Regions from separate parts of the Homo sapiens genome. Here regions 1 and 3 are each linked to region 2. Evidence: promoter capture Hi-C in human tissues and cell types (Jung and others, 2019). All regions are on one chromosome and are shown on one strand. The core of a region is centred on a gene start or on the middle of the fragment in contact, and the rest is flanking DNA. Distances in the headings are between cores, read along the strand shown.

Region 1 (3,602 bases), core at 128-2,627, 760 kb after region 2:
TGGGATTACAGGCACCCGCCACCATGCCTGGCTAATTTTTGTATTTTTAGTATAGACAGGGTTTTGCCATGTTGGCCAGGCTGGCCTCGAAGTCCTGATCAAGTGATCCGCCCGCCTAGGCCTCCCAAAGTGCTGGGACTACGGGCATGAGCCACAGTGCCTAGCCTATTTTCTTACTCTTAATTCTTGAAAGCAGCATGACTGACTTGAAGCAACTGAACACCTGAGACTCTTGCTACACATTGCCAAATTGAGCCTCCCCATTTTTGATTCACTGCTCCCTGACAAACCTCAAGCACTGTTCTGCCATTTCGACAGATGAAGAGTCACTTTGATTTGCTTTTCTTTGACCATTGATCTTATTTTATAAGCTCAAGAGCCATTTCTATTCTTCCCTTATTAAGTTCTGTTTGTGTCTTTTTGCATTTAGAAGAAGCTACAATTTACTGAAACAGTTAAGAACACTAAAAATATATTTAAAGGAAAGTCAAAGCTTAAATTTTAATTTAAAGAAAGTAGAAGGTTCTGAGGTGGTTAAATAGCCTTGAGAAAGAGCAGCTGAGATACTTACACCGATGCACTTGGCCACTTTACCCATGATGTTGCCCTGTGGCTTGAACTTCTTGTACATCCCACTGCCAAGGACAAACACAACTAGATAGGGCAGAAGAAGACATGTCAGCAAAGCATGTGACCGAGCGCCCTGTGGCCTAGAGAGATGCGCCTTTATTTGAATTATAACTTTGTTTTGGGATAATGGGATTACTTATGGAATGGGTTTACCTTCCAACCTCACAGTTTAGAAAGTGCTTTTAACTCTCACAATCCACAAAAACCTCTGAGTAACGTTAGGTTTGTCTTCTAATATGCAACCTGTAAGCCTAATATCATCTACTTCCCATAGCTTAAGGTAGCTCACGTACACTCACACAGCTATTTAAGCACAAGTTCTATCTCTATTTAAAGGGAGACAAAAGGAATCAGTACTTTCATATAACACATTAAAGTACTATTCTACTAAGACAATAAATGGGGCCAGGCGCGGTGGCTCAAGCCTGCAATCCCAGTACTTTGAGAGGCCGAGGTGGGCGGATCACTTGAGGTCAGGAGTTTGAGACCAGCCTGACCAACATGGTGAAAACCCGTCTCTACTAAAAACACAAAAATTAGCTGGGTGTGGTGATGGGCACCTGTAATCCCAGCTACTCGGGAGGCTGAGGCAGGAGAATTGCTTGAACCCAGGAGGTGGAGGCTGCAGTGAAATGAGATCGTGTCACTGCACTCCAGTCTCGGTGACAGAGTGAAACTCCATATCAAAATAATAAAAATAAAAATAAATGGAGCTGTAATCTTCTGAATGCAATGGGAAGAGAAACCTTTTTCTTTCTCTTTTTAATATTCAGGAAAAAAGAATTAATCTTAATCATATGTGGCAGAAATTTTTTCTGTGGTCACTGTACAGAAGCAGTTAAAATTAATTGCATCTGCAGCTACAGTTTTACAAAAGTTAGAAGCACCTTTTCAATGAGGTCATTCTTCCACGGACCTTTTTGGCAAGTCATATTGTGAAAATAACTTAGAAAAAAACCATTCTAGGGCTGAGTGTGGCAGCTCATGTCTGTAATCCCAGCATTTTGGGAGGCCAAGGCAGGAGGATCACTTGAGACCAGTAGTTCAAGAGCAGCCTGGGCAACATAATGAGATCCTATCTCTATCATCTTATTAAAAAATTTTTAAAAATTTAAAGCATTGTTGCAAGTATATCTGAAAACATAGTCCATATACTAGGATTTCTGATTATCCAATACCACAGTTCAATAATTTAAAAACACCGATAGCTTGAATTCTACTTATTTTTCTCAATTAAGAGGGTCTGAGATTTTTGACAGGTGCTAGCTCCAAGTATGTGCCTATAATATAGATGTTCTTTATAGCTGATAAAAGAGATGTTTACTTATATTCTTGCCCAATGTCAACATTTCTGAATGCAGACATGGATGGTAAAGATGTCCAAGAGATTGAGTCTATGTTTTCTTTTACCACTAATATTTAATCTTTAAGCTTCTGATTAACTGAAACCTAATTCAAGCGTAGGAATTTCTAGAGGCAGTGTTGACACATCGGATTTGGCCTGTTCTCAATTCCTCCAGAAGAAAAAGCATAATCGTTGATAGAGGAATGACTTGTACAGATGAGATAACAATGTACCTAACGTGCTTAATACAGTGTCTGGTGTAAAGCAAGACTTTTGGAAATGCTCTCTGTCTCCTGCCAAGAATTAGAGAGGAGGAGGTATCAATGAGCCTGCTAGGGGACGGTGGCAGTATGGGAAGAACCATGGAAGAAAAGAGACATTAAAAAGAGGAGAATACTGAGCTCTCACCTAAATGAAAGGGGAAAGCTAAATTGCTACACTGTGAGCAAAAGAGATTGAAAACGGTCCTATTCCATGTACTACTAAGATCTGAAAACAAAAATTGGAGAGAGAGACGTGATTGTCAGCTGAGCAAAGCTGATGACAACCTCATTTGAGTGGGAGAAGGGGCTCTGAAGAGTTGAGGTGGCCGCTGGGCTGTTTTCTTTTTGCACCGTTCTTGGCCACCTTTCACATCCAAGCATCCCATGTAGAAAACGCCACCTTTCCTAAAAGCCAATGCCAAGAACTAATGTGCCAATGAATGCCTCGAATAGACATATATGTTCTGTCCAGTGGGAAAGAATTCTAGTAGAAACATATGGGGGGCGGGGGGAGGTGATACTAGTTTGGTGCAAAAGTTATTGCGGTTTTTGCCATTACTTTTAATGGCAAGAGCTGCAATTACTTTGGCACCAACCTAATCAATTATGGAAATGTAGATGTTCATTGGAGTGTTTCAGTGGCAACTGAACCAGGTTGCCATTTCTTCAAGCAAGTTATAGATACGTACATGTTGACAAGAACAAAAGCTTTTAGCCTTGGGTTCAGCTAATCCAGCAGATTCTATCACCTTCATCTTTTTTTTTTTTTTTTTTTTTTTTTTTTTTTTTTTTTGAGACAGGGTCTTGCTCTATCATCCAGGTTGCAGTGTTATGGTGCAATCATGGCTCACTGCAGCCTCGACCTCCCAGGCTCAAGCAATCCTTCCACTTAAGCTTCCAGAGGAGCTGGGACTACAGGTATAAGCCACAGCACCCAGCTAATTAAAAAAACAAGCAAAACAAATAAACAAAAACAACAACAAAAAAACCAGCTAGGTGTTGTGTCTCATGCCTGTAATCCCAGCACTTTGGGAGGCTGAGGTGGGTGGATCACCTGAGGTCAGGTGCTCGAGACCAGCCTGGCCAGCATGGTGAAACCCTGTTGCTACTAACAATAAAAAATATGTGGTGGCCGGTGCCTGTAATCTCAACTACTTGGGAGGCAGAGCCAGGAGAATCGCTTGAACCCAGGAGGCGGAGGTTGCAGTGAGCTGAAATCACACCATTGCACTCCAGCCTGGGCGACAAGAGCAAGACTCTGTCTTTTTGTTTGTTTGTTTTAGAGGTAGGGTCTCTCTCTGTTGCCTAGGCTGGACTTGAACTCCAGGCTGGTCTTAAACTCAAGGGATCCCCCTGCCTTGGCC
Region 2 (3,687 bases), core at 671-3,170:
CAGACCCTTGGTAAGATGCTTGAGCAAAATGCCATGAAGACACCTGCCCACAAGCCAAAATGTTAGAAGTCAGGTGCAGTAGCGAGCTCCTGCAGTCCCAACCACTTGGGAGGCTGAGGCAGGAGGATCTCTTGAGCCCATAGTTCGAGACCAGCCTGGGTAACATAATGAGACCCCTGTCTCAAAAACAAAAAAAGAACCAGTGACATAGGATGAGGACGAAGAAGCAAGGAATAGTGCTGAAGAACTTTCAGGATATGCGGGGTGACACTAGAAAGTGCTTAGACATCACACGTTACCAAGAAAAAAATGTGACCTATACAAAGGAGTCTGCCCATGTCCTATGAAACAATTTAAAAATCAAAAATAGGCCGGGTGCGTTGGCTCATGCCTGTAATCCCAGCACTTTGGGAGGCCAAGGTGGGCAGATTACGAAGTCAGGAGATCGAGACCATCCTGGCTAACATGGTGAAACCCCGTCTCTACTAAAAATATAAAAATTAGCCGAGCATGGTGGCGCGTGCCTGTAATCCCAGCTACTTGGGAGGCTGAGGCAGAAGAATCGCTTGAACCAGAGAGGCAGAGGTTGCAGTGAGCTGAGATCACACCAGCCTGGGCAACAGAGAGAGACTCTGTATCAAAAAAAAAAGAAATAAATAATTACAAAAATGGAGTTTGGCTTTAATTAATGATCTGAATTAATAAAAACAACAAAATGCTAGGCCAGCGCAGGGGATCATGCCTGTAATCCCAGCACTTTGAGAGGCCGAGGCAGATGGATCACTTGAGGTCAGGAGTTCAAGACCAGCCTGGCCAACGTGGTGAAACCCCATCTGTACTAAAATACAAAAATTATTCGGGCATGGTGGTGGGCACCTGTAATCCCAGCTACTTGGGAGGCTGAGGCAGGAGAATTTCTTGAACCCGGGAGGTGGAGGTTGCAGTGAGCCGAGATCACGCCACTGCACTCCAGCCTGGGCAACAGAGTGAGAATCTGTCTCAAAAAAAAAAGAAAAGCTAAATGTACAAAGCTAGGGCATTGAGATCCATGAGAATACAGGGCAAAATTGATGTTAATCTGTCATATAAAAATTTAATTACATCCCATAAATATCTGCAATTTTTTATTGTTTATTTTTTGAGACAAGGTCTCACTCTGTTGCCCAGGCTGGAGTGCAGTGGTGCAATCACAGCTCACTGCAGCTTCAACCTCCCCCGGCTCAGATGATCCTCCCACTTCAGCTTCCTGAGCAGCTGGGACTACAGGTGTGCACTGCCACACGCATCTAATATTTGCATTTTTCATAGAGATGGGGTTTTGCCATGTTGCCAAGACTGGTCTTGAACTCCTGAGCTCAAATGATCCTCCCACCTCGGCCTCCCAAAGTGCTGGAATTACAGGCATGAGCCACCCCGCCCAGCCAATATTTATAATTATTACATGTCAACTAAAATAAAAGAAAAAGTAATTTAATCACAAACCCAGTTGACATAAACGTATGTAATATGGAATTTCCTGTTGTTTCCATACAAATTTATCTTTGTCTATTTGAGAGATCAATTTCTCTTTTCAGTATTGAGTAGTGAATAGAATCAAAATCTGTGGGTAAAGAAGCTACTCAGACAGTTTCAAAACTGAATTTGATGACACATTTGTACCCAATCTGAGTGGCCCCCAGCAACATGGGTTTTGAGTTCTCAAAGGCCAATAGATAGCTCCCTTTCCTTTCCACAGCTTTGGGAGCTTGGGCTACCCTGTAACGTCTAAATGCCTGTGCAGTGTGGGCCTGTGAAGCTGGCAGGGTGGGCAGTGTAAATGCCCACTAGCAGGAGCCAGCTGACCTCCTGCGTGTCACAATAGCAGCCAGGTGTCTCCACGGTGACGTCTCTGAGCCAGGAGGTCAGAACTGTGGGATTGATGACCTCCCACAACTGGAGCAGCCGGGAACAGCTCTGACCACAGTAAGTCATCCCAAAACCTCACATTCAGATGAAACCATTTAAGAATTTCATCTGCACTGAGGAACAATTTAGCGTGATACTGGAGGGAAAGAGTTTCCCTGTGAGATCCAGGAGGTCCCTTTAGCTCGTCTCCTGACGTCACCACAGTCATACCCAAGAGGAAGGAAACGTCAGAGACAATGATTTGGAGAACATTCTACACAAAAACCAAGTATGAAACAATGACGATTTCATGATGGCTCATTGTTCTTTGGTATTGTGCCTTACGTGAGCTGGGGACTAACTCTGTATCCTTAAGGAGGCATCACTTGATTAGAGTTGCCCAAAAGAATGTGGGTTATTATCCTAAAGGTCTGTGTTGCCATCCTGAAACAGTCAGAAATCAGTTTTTATTTCACTTAGGTGGTTCCGGGGAGAAGCCTTTCCAGGACCCATGTGTAGGCACAACTGTTTTCCCTGATCAGGATACTTGCGGCACTCAAGTGAGTCTAGAATTATCAGATTTTGTTCTGTCTCTCTTCACTGTGAATTCTATTCTTTATTTCCTTTAAAACAAAAAGCTCCTGCTATTTTCTCCTATAATTATGATATCTGTTTCTTGATCATTTTACCTTCTATTCACCAATTAATTGAAATCCAACCCATCAGGATTATCTACCCTGCTTTCCTATAGGGAGAATAAAAAGTGCTTAGAAGCAGTATGATTTTCACTGCCTTTAATTTCTCAAATCCCAAGATGTTCCATTTAAAATCTTTAGAGTATCTATTTTGTCTTCTGTACATTATGGTTGTATTCCCTCAGAGGCCGAGTATATTTTATCTTAGTTTTCAGAGATCACTAAAGTCAAGTAAATGAAGGAAAACAGAATTCATTTTCATTATGGGAAAACAAAATCAATCCCTAAGTAGTCAAAAGATTACTTACTTAAGGAACCACCTGGTTAACTTCTTCTCCTAGAACTTAATCCCCTAACTAGGGGTAAAAAAGGCTCATTGTCATCTTATAAAGTATTAGATACCAGGGACTTGTCAAATGCTAATGCCTTTATTATAGAATGTTTAATTTAGACCTTCCTAAACAGTTTTGCTTTCTTCCGTCATTTGTCTGTGATGGAACCTCAAAGACACTAACTAGTATGCGAGACAGATTTGTGTTGGAACATTGTGTTAGCTTTCCAGTAGAGTTAAAACTCTGGAATGCAATTATAAACCTCCAAATGAAAAATACCGGCCGGGCACAGTGGCTCACACCTATAATCCCAGCACTTTGGGAGGCTGAGGTGGGAGGATCACTTGGGCCTAGGAGTTTAAGGTCAGCCTAGGCAACATAGTGAGACCCTGTCTCTACAAAATATAGAAAAAAGTAGCCAGTTATGGCAGAATGCATCTGTAATTCCAGGGACTCAGGAGGCTGAGGTGAGAGGATTCCTTGAGCTGGGGAGGTCAAGACTGCAGTGAGCCATGACTGTGCCACTGCACTCCAGCCTGGGTGACAGAGTGGGACCCTATCACGAAAAAAAAAAAAGAAAAATACCTAAGTGGCCAAATACCTTATAAAGTTCATGCATGCTACTCTACAGGAAATATCCTCAGCTGTCTTCTCTGTGCTGAGTTCATATACTCTTGTGCCTAGTTCATACATGCTTGGTCATCTGCCTTCCAAAGCACACAGCAAACCAGATGATGAGAGCAGCTGACAAGTGGAGACAGTTGTCATTTTATGTT
Region 3 (3,399 bases), core at 815-3,314, 870 kb after region 2:
GAAAAACTCAGTTGAAATTCGCCTGAAGTGAGGAGTTCAAAGCCAAGAGTATGTGGGCCTTGATCCTTCAGTGGCAGGTTTCATATTTGAGAGTAAAAAGTAAAACAAACAAACAAACAAACAAACAAAAAAGACCATCCACCCAGGCCTTTCAAGGTGGAGAAACAGCAGAACTGTTAAAACCACGTAATAACCAATCTATTTCTTTTTTTGTAGGATACCTAGAAAACTTTATTGGGGTTTAAATTATCTTAATATTTAAACATGAAGTACACTCAATATGTTATCCTTTTAATTCATGCTTAGTTTTTAATTTTGAGGACCATTTGAGACTAGACAATTTACAACAGTGGTTCTTAAACTTTTTGAGCTCAAGACCCCTTCGTAGATTTTAAGAATTATTGAGGACCTCAAAGTTTATGTGACTGTTCTCTCTCAATATTTACAATACTAGATATGAAAACTGAAACAAAATTAAGATTTACTTATTAATTTAATGAAAACAATAAGCCTATTACATATTTTAAAAATAGCATTTGTAAATAAAAAAGGATATTTTTTCCAAAAAAAAAAAGAGTGAAGAGTAGTAGTATTTTCCATTTTTACAACTCTCTTTACTGTCTGATTTTGCAAGATAAGCCCAAATGTGCATCCATTCTGCACACAGCCTGTTTGACAGGCTGTTTGGGTCATTGCGTACAAAGAAAACCCAGCCTCATAGACATTCAGTAGCAAGAGTACCGCCTCAAAGACTCACTGAAAGGTTCCAGGACCATGTTTAGAGAACCACTGACTTATGGCCTAGCTCATGTCATGAGGATGTGTGTTCAAGGGCCTGCCTCCCTGGCATGAGAATGGTTAAAAGCCCCAGTATCAACCGTATGCCACACCGCTGTGGCCCTGGAAATCAGGATGAAGCAGGTGCAGCAGAGGCGGAAGAGACTGACTCCTTTCTTGGCTTGCTCTTTCACTCCATGGGAGAAATTGGACAACTTCAATTTCCTTAAAACATGGGCAGGATTAAAAAGCTTTCCCTCAGCTGTTTCATTCTGCCCTGGGCTGAAGGGAGGCAGGTACACACAAAGAACCCTTCAGGCAGATAGGCATGGAAAAGGAAACAGAGTGAATGAGTGAATGCCAGCAGAAAACTGGCATTTATTCAAATATCTAGTTTTATGTCAAAACTCGCCAGTTACAGATAAGTGGCTGCAAGGCTAACCTGTTTTAGCAAGAAACTGGAATTTGCAGACATTGCTACGGTGATCTAATGTCAAACTTGCTGGTCTCTGTAGGGGGTGCGACAGGGTGGTCCTGTTTCCTAAGGGCCCATAGGACCTGCGCCACAGCACACAAGCGGAGGCAGGGACCAAGGCCCTAGACAGGGGTTGCTATGACCAGGACCCGAGTCTGGCCTCTCATGCCTTTGAGTTTGCCCTGGGGATATGACTGGTGCTGGAGACATTAATTTAAAAGTCAGATTAAAACTAAGAAAACTCATGAGCCAGAGAAATTAACTGCTATAAAGAATGAGAAACTTTATGACCAATATATTGGAACTTTTACCGGATGTGCTCAAGCACTGAGCCTCACTTCATTACAATCTAGCCCCTCATGATCTCTTTCCAAAGAAAGGAGACACTCCTAGAAGGGGAGAACGGCAGAAGCTTTTGCTGCTCTGCATCAGTTGTCTGGAGAATCATCTCAGTTAGAGCTATGTGTATAAGTAGCAGCTACAGGGAGGAAAAAGCCCTGGTCTGATGCACTAGCAATGCAAACAGCAGGCTCCCAGATACCCCAGTACCTGAAAGCCCACATGAGTTCAAGCACGCACCTCGTTGAAATGGACATCCTGCATCCCCACGTCTTCCATCATGGAGGCCTCCTCGTCGATGTTTGGGGTAATGACCCTGAAGGCGGTGCATCCTTGTCTAAACACGCCTAGGAAGAGAGGAAGGAGGGACAGTCAGAGTTAGGAACCTGAACGTGGGTGAACCCTGAGGGTTTTTCCTGCCCTGTGTGTTTCTGTGTTGAATGAAATAACGGATTTTGAAATCTCTTAGGCACCAGGCCAGCATTCACGGGGGTACCTGGGGCTACTGTGTGCTTTTCTTCCCTATAGTGAACCCTAACCTCTTTCACTTTCTTTTCCTTATCCCTTTTTATCTACCTTTATTAAAATGTATGCAATCTCTAAATATTAAACTATAAACTGAGAAATAGGTATTAAATCAAAGTAATAGTAAAATAACAATAAGTGAAAATTTGTCTTGGTAGGATGACTCGTGCTGAGATACTAAGAAAAACAAAGGCAAAGCCAATATAAGAGAAATGTATGATTCAAAAAGAACTGTTTCCTTCAAGCTGTCACCTCACCCACTCTGGCCAGGGAAGAACACATCTCTCAGATGAGAGCTTCCCCACACAACCCAGGTGTAGCTTCGTAGCCATAATGGTGAGCAGACAGGCTGCCTTAGCTGGTTCCCACCCCAGAGGCCCCGGGGTGGGTGGCTGGCTGCATCAACAGAGGGCATGGATGCCTGGGCACTCTGATTCTCCAAGAGGAAATGGTGTTAGCTTAGAGGCAGGATCAATGTCTGGGATAAGGATGTGTTTCTTAAGCAATGACAGCCCATTTGGGACCTTTCCTCGTCTTAGAGTCACTGGAAAACAGCTTTAAGTCAGTTGGACCACGTCAGCTATGCAAAATGATCAAGTGAAGAAGGGCATGAGATGTTCCACTACTCTATTTTGAGATAACTGTTCACAATAAAATAAAACAGAAGTAAAAACTTGAATTGAGACTTCTACATTTAGGGAGAAAGAGGAACACAGGGTATTCTGAAATCAAGCCTTGAAAACGGAGATCCTGAAGTCAGAGATTTTTCTGCTGCACATGATCCCAGGTTTCTACACTATTCATGGATTATCCAGCATCTGCCACTATCCCAGTTTAGTTTTTATTTTGTTATATGGAAACAAGAGTCTCCCATGAAAAGCATTAATCTAGGAACTTGAGGATACATTAACATACAAACTGTAAAATTAAAAAAACCAACCACCCATGCTCTAGGCTATATAGTACATTTCACCACATAACTCGGAGCCAATGGAATAACAAAAATGGTGGCCAAGGTGCTTTCCTCTTGTGCCCACAGGAATAGACCAGCCAACCAGAGAGCCACAGAGTAGGAGGGAAGGAGAGTGAAGTCTGTCCATGCAAAGTTAAAAGGGCAAATCCCCCACCACGGGAGGGCACGTGACCAGGGCAGGGGGTCCCCGGGGGCTGGGCTGATCCTCAGGCTCACCTCCCCGGCTCCTCCTCAGGCAGGCGCTATGGCTGTGGGGGAGAAGGGGCGGCTCCCACTGGACTGCTTCTAAACATGAGGAAATGCATCACCT

The links. The method cuts DNA at HindIII sites, captures the fragments that hold promoters and counts their contacts. A contact is called where the count stands out against the background at its distance.
Region 1: a contact is called between a fragment that was not itself captured here and the fragment with the promoter of IPO5 in region 2, in 3 of the 25 tissues and cell types used here (IMR-90 fibroblasts, lymphoblastoid cells and mesenchymal stem cells).
Region 3: a fragment that was not itself captured here is called in contact with the fragment with the promoter of IPO5 in region 2 in 1 of the 25 tissues and cell types used here (lymphoblastoid cells).

What each region holds. Positions count from the first base shown.
Region 1 is chr13:98,715,307-98,718,908 of GRCh38, forward strand. It overlaps SLC15A1 (solute carrier family 15 member 1), which reads right to left. Exons shown (of 23, transcript NM_005073.4): 9 at 572-654. Among named protein-coding and RNA genes, the nearest start is that of SLC15A1, 36 kb to the right of the region's middle. The HindIII fragment of the contact is 3,323 bases long and covers 1-3,039 here.
Region 2 is chr13:97,951,755-97,955,441 of GRCh38, forward strand. It overlaps IPO5 (importin 5), which reads left to right and starts at 1,921. Exons shown (of 29, transcript NM_002271.6): 1 at 1,921-1,962; 2 at 2,365-2,444. The HindIII fragment of the contact is 20,218 bases long and covers 1-3,687 here.
Region 3 is chr13:98,822,567-98,825,965 of GRCh38, forward strand. DOCK9 (dedicator of cytokinesis 9) reads right to left here. Exons shown (of 53, transcript NM_001366683.2): 45 at 1,832-1,938. Among named protein-coding and RNA genes, the nearest start is that of DOCK9-AS1, 7.8 kb to the right of the region's middle. The HindIII fragment of the contact is 3,286 bases long and covers 422-3,399 here.